Regions from separate parts of the Homo sapiens genome. Here region 2 is linked to region 1. Evidence: promoter capture Hi-C in human tissues and cell types (Jung and others, 2019). All regions are on one chromosome and are shown on one strand. The core of a region is centred on a gene start or on the middle of the fragment in contact, and the rest is flanking DNA. Distances in the headings are between cores, read along the strand shown. Region 1 holds the start of GALNT16 (polypeptide N-acetylgalactosaminyltransferase 16). Region 2 overlaps ERH (ERH mRNA splicing and mitosis factor).

The links. Contacts are between HindIII fragments. The study calls those that stand out against the background at their distance.
Region 2: a fragment that was not itself captured here is called in contact with the fragment with the promoter of GALNT16 in region 1 in 8 of the 25 tissues and cell types used here (aorta, dorsolateral prefrontal cortex, heart right ventricle and 5 more).

What each region holds. Positions count from the first base shown.
Region 1 is chr14:69,256,143-69,262,357 of GRCh38, forward strand. It overlaps GALNT16 (polypeptide N-acetylgalactosaminyltransferase 16), which reads left to right and starts at 4,016. Exons shown (of 15, transcript NM_001168368.2): 1 at 4,016-4,325. The coding sequence starts at 4,149. GALNT16-AS1 (GALNT16 and EXD2 antisense RNA 1) reads right to left here and starts at 4,385. Exons shown (of 4, transcript NR_184249.1): 1 at 4,148-4,385; 2 at 912-1,159. RefSeq lists a silencer at 5,062-5,121. The HindIII fragment of the contact is 13,760 bases long and covers 1-6,215 here.
Region 2 is chr14:69,383,082-69,389,296 of GRCh38, forward strand. ERH (ERH mRNA splicing and mitosis factor) reads right to left here. Exons shown (of 4, transcript NM_004450.3): 3 at 3,882-4,002. It also overlaps a transcript of GALNT16 not described here. Among named protein-coding and RNA genes, the nearest start is that of ERH, 12 kb to the right of the region's middle. The HindIII fragment of the contact is 7,932 bases long and covers 1-6,215 here.

The DNA of each region.
Region 1 (6,215 bases), core at 2,766-5,265:
GCTGTGGACAGAGCAAGAGCTTCTGAGCTGGCCCAGCACCTCAAATGGGAGGCTGGGGCCCTGCTCTGTGCCTCTCCCCTGCCTTGCCTCCAGCCTGCTCAGCAGAGGCTCTGGAAGATGCAGCCACCCACCCACGGGCAGGACAGTCTATGACTGCTGGACATTAGCCATGGCCAAAGAGGCTGGCATCAGGTCTGTTCTTGGCAGCAATAGTGAGCAGTCCCTTTCAGGAGGCCCCTTTCACCTCCAGCAGCCAGCAACAGCCTGCAGGAGAGAGCCCCTGGGGGGTGCTTATGAGGCACTGGATTTTACATGACTTTATTTCATCCTATCTTTCCCAACAAAGTTGTGAGGTAAGAGCTGTCAGTGCCCCATTTTGCAGTTGAGGAAACTGAGGTTAAGAATTTGCCCAAACCACTCTCTTAATTTGTGACAGGATCAGCATTCAAGTTCAGGTTGTCCAATTCCAGAGCCAGGGCCTTACACTGAGCTGTACCCTTTCCCCCTCGGTTATCCACTCCTCCACAACCCCCACACCAAAGGCCCAGAGGCAGAGAGCTCCCTGGGGCATCTGGGAGCCCCAGGGGCATGTGGAACTTTGCCCAGCTTACCCTGAGTGCTGGCTTTGACAGCTTTAAAACAATATGAACTGTGCCTAAGAGAAATCCTGAAAAGGAGGAAATGCAAGTTCAAAGTGGCACAGTTGGTGAGACCCCCCCACCCCAGGACATCTTATATCCCTCCTTTTATGGATGAGAAAACGGAGAACTGTGGGCAGGGAAAGTGAGACTCCTGCATACAGAAATTCAGACCACACTGCAGATTTCCCAGTGGCCTCAGAAGCCCTGTACTCGTACCCAGACACAAGCGTTGAAAATGGCACAGGACTTAAACCGAGCTTCACCACTTACTTGCTGTAGGATTCCAGGCAAGTTGAGTAGCCGTTGAGCTTCAGTGTCATCATCTGCAGTTGGGGATATGATCATCCTTAGCTCAGGGTTGTAGGGGCTTTAGAGACAGTATAGGTGACAGTACCTGGTAGGTACTGAGTAAACTGCAGCTATTATGATGACTCTTGTTTTCACAGTTCAAAGTATGTGAAGAAACAGTGAATTCCTTAGGTGTTGCTTTGATTCTGTGATGCTGCTGGAGTCCATTCCTAGTACCAGAGAGGAAACAACACTCATTGTCATTTCTGAGCATTGAAACCTATCCCAGGGAGGGCCAGTTCTGCACCCACTTGGGATTACAATCTGAAACGAAGACCACAGACTGTAGCCAAGGTGGCAATTCCTGGTCTTTAGCTCTGCCAGAGTGCCTATGGCTTCAGGCACATTACTCCACCTCTGTCTATGTGGAATTCCTGTCAGTCAAATGAGCATGGCAATTACTTGCTGTCTTACCCCCACCCCACCCCCATCATCCCCCAGGGAAGTGCCCAACTAAGGAACAACTGTGGTGAAGTCATCTAGAGAGGCTACGCTTCACTTCTGTGCAGTCTTTCTGGTGGTGGGGGCCAAGCAAACCTTCTCTCAGGGACAGAACTACCAGGAGTGACCATTTGGGGCAGATATATAGCATCCTCACCACTGAGCCCTGGGCAGTAAGTGGTGAGATGTGAGAAACCCTGCCACATTCCAGCCCATCCCACCCCTCCCTCCTTCCCCCCATGGAGCCTTCCTTTTGGAGTCACCAGAAGCCCCAACTGTCTGGTTTCAGTCAGCATGGTCCAGCTTCATCCCCGTGCCGAGGGGTGAGTTTGGAGCCTTTTACCAGGAGGTGATAGGTGATGTGATGTCTTCGAATCCCACATCCAAAGGCAACTAGAGATGCACAGACCAGGCTGGGATGAGGGGAGCAGCCTATGACAACAGGGCTACTCCCCAAGTTTTCACCTGGCTCACCTGAGAGATGTGTGAAAATGGGGGCACCAGGAGGGTAGTTCCCTTACATTTTCTTGGTTGACCTGAGAGGCCTGTGGAGCCTGATTCCCAAGGAGCAAGGTCTTTCCTGGCCTCCCACAAATGGCACCGCTGGATCTGCCCCATGATTCCTGCGGAAACCAGATGGAGGTTTGGCAGTGGTTTTCTCCATCTATGCAAACAAGCCCTGGCCCCTGGCGCAGTCTTATTAAACTCCCCAGGGGAGAGAGACCTGGGAGAGCATCTGGCGTCTCCAGACTCCTGCCCCTGTTGTGACTGCCACACCTTATGCCTGAAATTCCCTGCTACTTGTGTAGACCCTTTGTGAGGCCCTCTTTGTGCATTCTCTTCTTTCTAGGTCCCATTCCTGCGTGGGTCACTTTTGGACTTGTCTAAGTGTCATCGTAATTAGTCTTCTGAGTGAGGATATCGTATTGCAGTAATGACCCTGGGTTTTCCTCAGCAAAAACCCAACTAGGGTTTCTTCACCTCAACAGAAATGTATTGAGCATCTATTATATGTGCGGTTCAGTCTCGAGTGCTGGAGAAATGGAGAAAAGCCACCTGATTTTACTTCTATCTGTCAGGGTGGTGCTCATGGGATGCTTGTGGGGGGGCATGATGCTGTGACTTCAGTTTGCCTGATTCCCCAGATGGCTTCATTTAGAGGCTGGACCCTATGTGGGTCTTCGGAGTAGCCATGGTGTCCAGCAGTGCCAGCAGGAAGCAGACTCCTCAACAACTCTGCCCCGGCATTCAAGGACCTCCTGAGTTCAGACTCACCCAGCCTGGCCAACCTCAACTCCTATCAAATCCTAGGCCCCCTGCAACGCCTGGCAGCTCTCTCTCTTGAACACATCAAGCTCTTCCATCCTCTGGATTTTTGCAAGGCCTATTTCTGCAGTCTCTCCCCTGTCCTCACCTCCCCCTTCCTTACCTCTTAAGTGATTCATCCACCTTTCTGAGAGCTTTCCCAAAGGCCACCTTACAATAAATTATTTCTTCCTCTGTTGGATCCCTACTTTGTTGTTACACATCTATTCATTGAGCGCTCTGTGCCCGACACTGTGCTGGTTTCCTAAAACTCATCCAAGCCTCTTGCTTTCTGCCTGGAGTGAAGAGTAGTTCACGTTCTGATTCTCAGTGCCTCTAGGGCTGGAGCGGAATCTTAATGTCTGTGTCCTCGTCTCTCACCACCGCGTTTTGCACTTTGTCGAAAGGTGTCAGATGGTGAGATGGCTTCTAGACTGGGCTCTGCCCACTAATTAGCTGTGTGGCCTTGGGAGAATCATCCGGCCTCTCTTGCTGCCCTTCTTTCCGATGAAATAATGCTGACGATGATATTTCAGGGTTGTCCAGGGGTCAATGAGGCGGGATAGAGGGAAGCATCGTGAAATCTGGGAGCCCCAGGCCAGCGAAAAATGTGGAAGGGCCGTACCCGCACTCTCCTAGCACTGGGTGTGAGGCAGCGTCGTTTCCCCTTCGCGCTCTTCGAATGTCAAGTGCACCAGCTTCCAATCCCTCCTCTGGGCGGGCCCGGTCTGGCTAATCTCAGCTGCAGATTCCAGTACAAACTCAGGACTCTCCCCCGCCCAGCCGCCCCTACACAAGGACTCGCCGAACACACCTTGAATCCCGCGCCAGAGCGCAGCCCGGAACTGCAGCTCGCGGCGCGGGCCCAGGTCGGGGGTCGCGCGTCTCCAGTCGGTGACTCAAGGCCGCTCGGTCCGGGGGTGGGTGTGGGTCGGCAGGACCGACCAGGGCCGCGCGGGGGCAGCTGCCGGGCGTTCGGTCACCTAGCGGTGGGAGCCGAGGCTGGCTTTGGCCAGTCGCCATTCCGCCGCGGGCGTCTGTCTCGCCGGGTTCCCGGGCGCGGGAGGAAGGCCCGCGCCGCTTCCCACTCGGCGCGCTTCTCTCCCAGTGCGCAGTGGCCTGGTGGGTCAGCCGGCGGCGGCTGGAGCGCGGGGCCGGCCCTGCGCACGAATGAATGGGCGCCCGGGGGACGCGCGCGCTCGGGGCTGAAGGGCATTAGGACCGTGAGGATCGCTCCGCGATCCTGTCTCTCCCTATCACCCCCCCGCCCCCCCACCTCTCTCCTTTTTCTGCTCTGCAGGACTGAGCAGCTAGGCGCGAGCGAAAACAAACAGCTGGGGCTGCGAGCGCCCCCGCCCCGGCCCCGAGAGCACGCCGGCCCAGTCCCCCACCTGGGGCGCCCGTCTGCCCACCATGAGGAAGATCCGCGCCAATGCCATCGCCATCCTGACCGTAGCCTGGATCCTGGGCACTTTCTACTACTTATGGCAGGACAACCGAGCCCACGCAGCATCCTCCGGCGGCCGGGGCGCGCAGAGGGCAGGCAGGAGGTCGGAGCAGCTCCGCGAGGACCGCACCATCCCGCTCATTGTGAGTACGCCCCGAGCGTCGGCCGGCCGGCTAGGGAGCCGCGGCGCGCGTCCAGACCCTGCGCGGCGGCCGAGGGCGCGGGGCCCGGCCAGGGCTGAGTGCCCGCTGCGCCGGGCCGGCTTTGTATATGTTGGAGCATTCCTGCCCGTTGTTATGGCAACCTCTGCCGGGCGGCGGGGCTGGGGCGCACCGACTAAGGGAGGGTGACAGAGGGTGGGGGCTGGGAGAAAGTGCTGCAAGTTTGGTGGGCCCGGCGTGCGCGCGCGGCTGGGAACGTGGCGGCTCTCCCGGCTCTGCGCTGCCGGGGCCGGGAGTCTGGGGGCTGCGGGAGCCTCGTGTGCCCCGGAAGGCTGCCGGGCCCAGCGCGCGGCGAGCGGGCGGTGGGAACCACTCGCAGCCGAGCGCGTAGGTGGCAGTGCGCAGCCCCTCTCCAGCCTTCTGGGGGCAGAGGACATCGGGTGGGGGCGTGGGTAGGGGAAGGCTCTCTAGGCGCTGCGCCTGGCTTCGAACCCCCTTCTGAGCCGGGTCAACTTGAACCCGCTTCTTCGGCGCGGACACCCAGCTTCCCCGGAGTTCTCTGGGTTGAGGAGAGGTCTCGCACTGTACGCGTCTCTCACTCCCAACCTTAGGGTCCGCCACCACGGGTAGGTGGGCAGTGTCAGCGCCCGAACTTGGCGATACCCTTGCATGAAGTCAGCCTCGCGACATCTAAGCGGGCAGGGAAACAAAGGCAGTGTGGCACAGCGGGGGCGGCGGCGGGGCTGCGGGGGCCCTTGGCGCTCTGGGGACCCGGGCGGGGGCGTGCGGAGCCGCAGCCGCCCTGCAGGGGGCGATCCTGTCGCCGTCTCCGTCCGAGCCCCAGGTGACAGAGCTGTGCGTGGCCAGGCAGGGGCACCTGTTGAGGCGGGAGGCTTTGGCACCCGCCGAGAGTGCGCTCGAGCGGGCGCATTCTTCCAGACGGGGGCGGTTGGTGGACGAGAGCCTCGGACGACCCTCGGGAACTACCAGGGCGGGGCAGCCTGGCCGGATGAGGACCAGGAAGAGGAGAGCCGAGTGGGGCGGGGGTAAAGGAGTGAGGAAGCGTGGCGATTCCGACAAGGAAAGATCTGGGCCTGGGGGTGGAGGGGTGAGGAGATCCGCGGGGGAGGTGCAAGGTCCGGAGGGCTGAGGCTTGTGTGGAGCCGAATCCGAGAAACGCATCCAGACGCGGATCTGAACCCCAGGAATATCGGGAAGTTCATTGGAGAGTGTCCCCTCATATTCCCATCCTGCCCCAGATTCCGAGTCCCCTGCAAAGGAAACATTATTTCAGGGCTTTGCCTGAGGAGACCTGGGGCGGGGGGGTGAGGTTGTGGGTTTTGTCCTAGATACCAGTCTGGGTGAACTCTCTGGGGGCAAGCCTGATTAGGTGCACTGTTCCCTTCTGGGCTGTTCTCCCAGGACACTGTTTCCAAAGCACTTGTCGCCCTTTGGACAGAAAACTGATAAGGAAAAGCCTCCTGTGCTGAGGCCCCAGAGTGTTGTGATCTGAGCAGAGGGACAGGTTGGAGCTGGAACTGTCCAAACCAGCAGTGGCCTCCAGACCCCAGGGAGCTTCCTCTCCAGGAGCCCAGGCTGCCACATTCATACTCAGTGGCAGGAAGAGCCCTAGTCTCAGGCAAGGCAGGCTGGCCAGATGCTCTGTCCCTCTTTCTGGTGAGGCGATGAGAAGAGGGTCTGAGTTGGAAGGGGCGGAGAAAGAGGCTGGGCAGGGAGGAGAGGAGGGAAGAGAGCACAGGAGACTGCTGCTCAGAGCCTCTGCTTTGGAACCCGGAACCTGAACCCTGACCTGGCCCATGCACCTCTCTCCTGCTCCTTCCAGAGTCCTGTAAGATGCACTGGGAGGGCCGC
Region 2 (6,215 bases), core at 1,142-3,641, 130 kb after region 1:
TTTATGTCTCTAAGCAAACAAGAAAATACTGCATAATCAAAAGGGCATTATTTTCATCTTACAAAAAGCTTATTTAAAAAACATACAGATCAGAAAACTGGAAAAATCTGACTCTGACTTTAAGTATACGAAATACAAATTTTCATGCCTACATTTTATTATTAATGCATGGTCAGTTTGCTCTGGGTTTAGTCATGTTACAAAGTAGAATCTTATTTATTCCATTTCCACCTACGCTGTTTAAAAAGAATTAATTTAAAAAAGTCCTAGGTCACTGCCATGTAAATTTAATAGAAACTATGAGCACACAACCATCTACAAACCAAAAACGGACCCAGTCTCTGGTCTGAGGAGTAACGGCCCAAATCACAGGATGTGCTGTGGCAGTGGGTTACCTCTTTGGAAACAATACCTTATTTCTCCTGAATATTCAAAGAACAAAAAGGACATAACCAAAGTCACCTGGGGAAAATAGTTTTAAATCCTAAATTTGATTCTGAAAGTTTTTCAGAGGCCAAAAAATTTTCAACATTAGAAACAAACAAATAGTTACAGGTTTTCAAGCTATGATAATTTACGGTTTTTAACACTCTGAAACTACTAAAAAACCATAAATTATCATTAACCTCTCTTCTATATTTCTGGAAATACTGTAGGTGGGAAGAATTATCTAGGTAATAATTAAAGCTTTCCCCCTATGTTGCTTTAATATAGCAAATATTGTATTAAAAATCAGTTTAGTATGCTAGATATGGTTTCTAGTTTACATTTTAAAGTCTAATGCAGCCGGGCACAGTTGCTCATGCCTGTAATATCACTCCTTGGGGAGGCTGAGGAAGGAGGATCACTTGAGCCCAGGAGTTTGAGACCAGCCTGGGTAATATAGCAAGACCCTGTCTCTAAAATTTTTTTTTTATAAAGTCTAGTACAAAGTTAGAAAAGTTATGTTATGTCATTAATGACATACTTGTATATCATTAACATGTCACTTGTAACTGTTTTACTCTGCTCAATTTTCATATTGTTGAAAAAACCTCAACACCTTTTAAATCTCCCTTGAAATTTATAATTTATCTCACACGTAGACATTAAAATTCATATCATTCTACTCCTGGCAAATTTAAGAACATGCTTGTAATTAAAAATAAAACTCTATCCTGACTTCTTCAATCTAGTTGAAAAGGGAGTTGCTGCATATCTAATAATGCTGTGCTCAGCAAGCACTTGATCCTCACAAGGAGTCTTATGAACTAGATTTGTCTGAATTTTACAAATTAGCAAACTAAAGTTTAGCAATACAAAGCTGCCTTGTCAAAGGGAGCTAGCAAATGGTAGACCCAGGATTCAAACCCAGCTATGTCTAATTCTGCCACTCCAGCTAGCTCTTAACCACAGCCTCCCAAGACAAGTAAAACATGATCCTTTGCTTCAAGTTTACTTCCCACTTACTGGGAGTAAGTATGACATCCCAAAAGCGTCAGGATTACATCCTGAATGTTTCAGTAAGGTTCTTTTATAAAACCATAAAGACAACCATTAATTTTTAATCAATGCAGAATATAGCTCTGTAATATAAATAAGGGAAATAGAAAATTATCAATAATTTTAGAAAGCTATTCCTCAAATAACAACACAAGTGACGTGCATTTATATAACCAATATTTACTCAGCACTAATTATGTACCAGAGATGCAGCAGTGAACAAACACAAAGCAACTTCTTCTTAAATTCTATCAATTAATATACACATTATTGGTAATTTCATATCCAGTGGATGATTCTGTCAACACTTAGGCCTCCCAATTCCATGAAGTCTTTTCCTCTAATGATCTCATCTCCTACCCTCTCTTGGCCAGATCCCTAGACCTTGTCATTTCCAACTACTTCAATTTCCTAATTTCAAGCATGTCATTCTCTGATCACCACTTCCTAACACTCTAATGTGAGCAATCCTTGATCCAGTGGGACCTACAATGAACTGATCTACCTCTGTTTCCAGCACCTCCTCCTACACCCCCAATTAAAGCTCATGGTCATTCAGTCGTTGCTGTTGTCCTCATATATGCCCTCAACCTTTAGCAAAATCTTTACTCTCTACCTACTCCTCACCTGTAACCATCCAGGTGAGAGAGACTAGGAAAAAAATCCCATGATCACAATGACTGATTTCACTTTAAATCACTATCAGATAGGTACTTTGGAGGACACTTAATGCATCCCTGAATTAATTGCAGTTCCCTAATTCTTTCACCTTCCTAGCTTATTTCTTACTTTTCCACAAACCTGTAACACCTGTTTCAAATGATGTCCTTGCTCCTTATCTTTCTGAGATAACTGAAGCATACAGAAGATAATTCCCCCCAGCTCCCAAATTTGCCTGTCCTCCCTTTTTTATGATTGAACTGTCCAAGAGCCAATTTGAGCTATCAGTTTCTCCTTCTCTGGTACATCATCCCATCAGCCTGCAAACTTACCATTACTTTTCCCACTTAAAAAAAAGCAATTTCTTTCTCCAGCTACAACCCCATTTTTCTGTTCTTTCAAGCAAAATTCTTTAAATAAAAAAAAGGAAAAAAAAAAAAAAAGCAAGCCTGTAATGGCCACCTATAAATCCTCTCTTTTCATTCCCTTCCATACACTGAAATCTGTAAGCATTTTACTCCTGGCACTCTACCACAACCGTTCTGGAAGTCACCAAAGACTTCCACAGTGTCAAATCCAGGGGTCAATTAAATTCTCAGTCCTCACATATCTGTCCTATCAATGATATGACACACTTCTGCATTTGGCTTCCAGGATATCATTGCTCCCTGCTCCTCCAATCTCCTAAGACACTCTCCTTCACTCATTCCTCTGCAGCCTCAAAGGCTTCCTTAATGACTTCAAACATGCTAGGCACTCCTACTTCAGGACTTCTACACTAGCTGTCCCTCATCCCCTCTGTCTGGTATGTTTTTCCTATAGATGTCTGAATGGCTTAAAGTACCATGCAACATTCATTTGAATGTTCTGAGTGATCAAAGTGAAATGGCTACAACCGGAACACAATGAAGAGGTACAGAAAACAAAACTCAAACATCCCAAGGAAATGCGTGTTTTGGAACTTTTGGGGAGACAGCATGGTGCAGCCACATTCCATGATTGGCTCCAGTGGTGATCCAGGAAGTGCCTATGAGTAAGACTTGTATATTTCTCATCACTGCTCTTTCAACTTCTAGCACAGCACCTGACATGTAATAAATATTCAAGTATCTGATGATTGAGTATTGTATCATAAGGTGCTTCCATTTTCCTCGGTTAAATGAGCTGTATTTACACTCAATTTCTGTTCGCTAATGTAAAAAAGATTAGGTAAGTCTACAGTAACACTTTATGCTCCTTGTTAGTAATTGTCAGAAGCAGATTATCAATACAAACTATAACAAATATGTTAAAAAATCTCACTCTAACATACCAAAATATACGTACTTACACAGCGTAGGATTGAAATTAAATTTCAGCTATACGCATATTTAAGTTTTTGAAATGTCATGAAAAAAAGATAATCTTAGTTTTAATCCAAAACCAATGGCTTTAAGACAAAGACTGTAAAGGAAAAAAAAAATTAGGTATAAGGAACAAAGAAGAGGCACATGGAACTTCTGAATTAGGATCCTTTCTGGATACTAACTATATCAATTAGCAAAGTTATTTTTTTCTGTGCCTTTGGCTTTATGTTGCCAATCTCTTATTTCTGTAAGAGAAATATTAATTACTATACACTATGCAAATGCAAAGATCAGTATCAGGCACATAATTAGCTCCCAATACCATAAATCACCTCAAACAGACAGAAAAGCAATAGAAAATACAAGATAAAAGACATGTTGGCTAATACTTACACCAGGCAGCTGAGGTCTGCCAGATCATCGATGAAATCAAACAACTGACTGATGTCATATGTGATAGAGGGACTGTTGGGATTCATTCTTTTCAGATGTTCTTCATACATTTTACAAACACCTAAGAAAGGATAGGAAAAAAAGCAAAATCTTACAATCGCATACACTTCTAGATATGAGCAGTGCTTATGAGCTGTGCTATATGTTGATATCATATTTACTTTAATAAAGTTGGGCTGGGGAAAAGATGATAGATTGATGGCTTTTGATTATTGCCACTAGCAAATACTTTTTTATTTTATAAATTCACCAGGTCAGGTGTAGTGGCTTACGCCTGTAATCCCAGCTCTTTGGGAGGCTGAGGCAGGAGCATCACTTGAGCCCCACAGTTTAAGACCAGCCTGCCTGGGCAACACAGGGAGACCTCATCTCTACAAAAATTAAAAAATTAGCCAGGCGTGATGGCGTGTGCTTGTGGTCCCAGCTACCTGGGAAGCTGAGGTGGGAGAATCACTTGGCTGCAGTGAGCCGTGATTGCATCACTGCACTCCAGTCTGGGCAGCTGAGAAATTCACCACAATGTTGATGTAACTATTTTGTGTCTTAATAATAAAATGATTACTTCAAACCACTGGAGCTAAGGGGCTTTAAAGACTTGCCATCTGATGGCTCAAACAAATAACACTGTGGGTCTTAACAGGTTTTTCAGTAATTCTTCCTAAAGCCACAGAGCAAAAAAAAAAAAAAAATTGGCAACAAGGAAAGAGATTATCCTAATGTATATTTAAGATCCTAGACTAGGCCGGGCACAGTGGCTCACGCCTGTAATCCCAGCACTTTGGGAGGCCAAGGCGGGCGGATCACGAGGTCAGGAGATAGAGACCATCCTGGCCAACACAGTGAAACCCTGTCTCTACTAAAAAAATACAAAAAATTAGCCAGGCATGGTGGCAGGCACCTGTAGCCCCAGCTACTCGGGAGGCTGAAGCAGGAGAATGGCATGAACCTGGGAGGTGGAGATTGCAGTGAGCCGAGATCGGCCACTGCACTCCAGCCCGGGTGACAGAGCAAGACTCTGTCTCAAACAAACAAACAAACAAAAAATCCTAGACTATGGATTCAGACAGACTTTAGTTCCAACTCTGCCCCTGTCAAACCGAGGACAAACGACGCCATTCCCTGAACCACACCTGTCAAACAGAGTTAAGAGTGCCTCTTCATAGAATTGTGAGGTTTATTTGAAATAATACACATAAAGCATTAGCACATGAACAAGGATATAAGTACTTAAATATAATAAAAAAGATAATGAGCAAAATCATTAATAGCAAGCCCACATTACTAATTATAATTAGCTATAGAGTATATTATCTATTTAGTTTTTATTCAATAATACTCTCCTTTTTTTTTTCTTTGAGATGGAGTTTTGCTCTTGTTGCCCAGGCTGGAATGCAATGATGAGATCTTGGCTCACTGCAACCTCCGCCTCCTGGGTTCAAGCGATTCTCCTGCCTCAGCCCCCCAAGTAGCTGGGATTACAGGCACCCGCCACCACACCCAGCTAACTTTTTGTATTTTTAGTAGAGACGGGGTTTTACCATGTTGGCCAGGCTGATCTTGAACTCCTGACCTCAGGTGATCAGCGTGCCTCAGCCTCCCAAAGGGCTGGGATTACAGGCTTGAGCCATCGTGCCCGGCCTGATACTCTCCTTTCTTATTCCCACAAAAGGAGAATACACCTTTTCAGTCTATTCCCGCTGTCAACTATTTTAAGACTACTATGATGAATGGCTAAGTGACATAAATGCTAGTTATCTAGAAAAAACATGTCCTATACTGTATACATAAGCCTTTTATTAGCTCCAAATTAACTTTATAAATTTCCTAATAAAAACACTATTCAACCACAGAACTATTAAACAACTATCTTAGGGCTTTTTATTGCTACTGGCATACTACATTGTGATCACAGAATATCACCCATGAGTTAATGAATGGAAAGAAAATAAAAACTAGGAAAATAAATTCGTATATGTTAAAAAGGCATTGACCCACAGTTATACTTTTTTTTTTTGAGATGGATTTTTTGCTCTTGTTGCCCAGGCTGGAGTGCATTGGCACAATCTCGGCTCACTGCAACCTCTGCCTCCCGGATTCAAGCGATTCTCTTGCCTCAGGCTCAGCCTCCCGAGTAGCTGAGATTACAGGTGTGTGCCACCACACCCGGCTAATTTTTGTATTTTTAGTAGAGACGGGGTTTTGCGATTTTGGCCAGGCTGGTCTTGAACTCTTGACCTCAGGTGATCCACCCGCGTCGGCCTCCCAAAGTGCTGG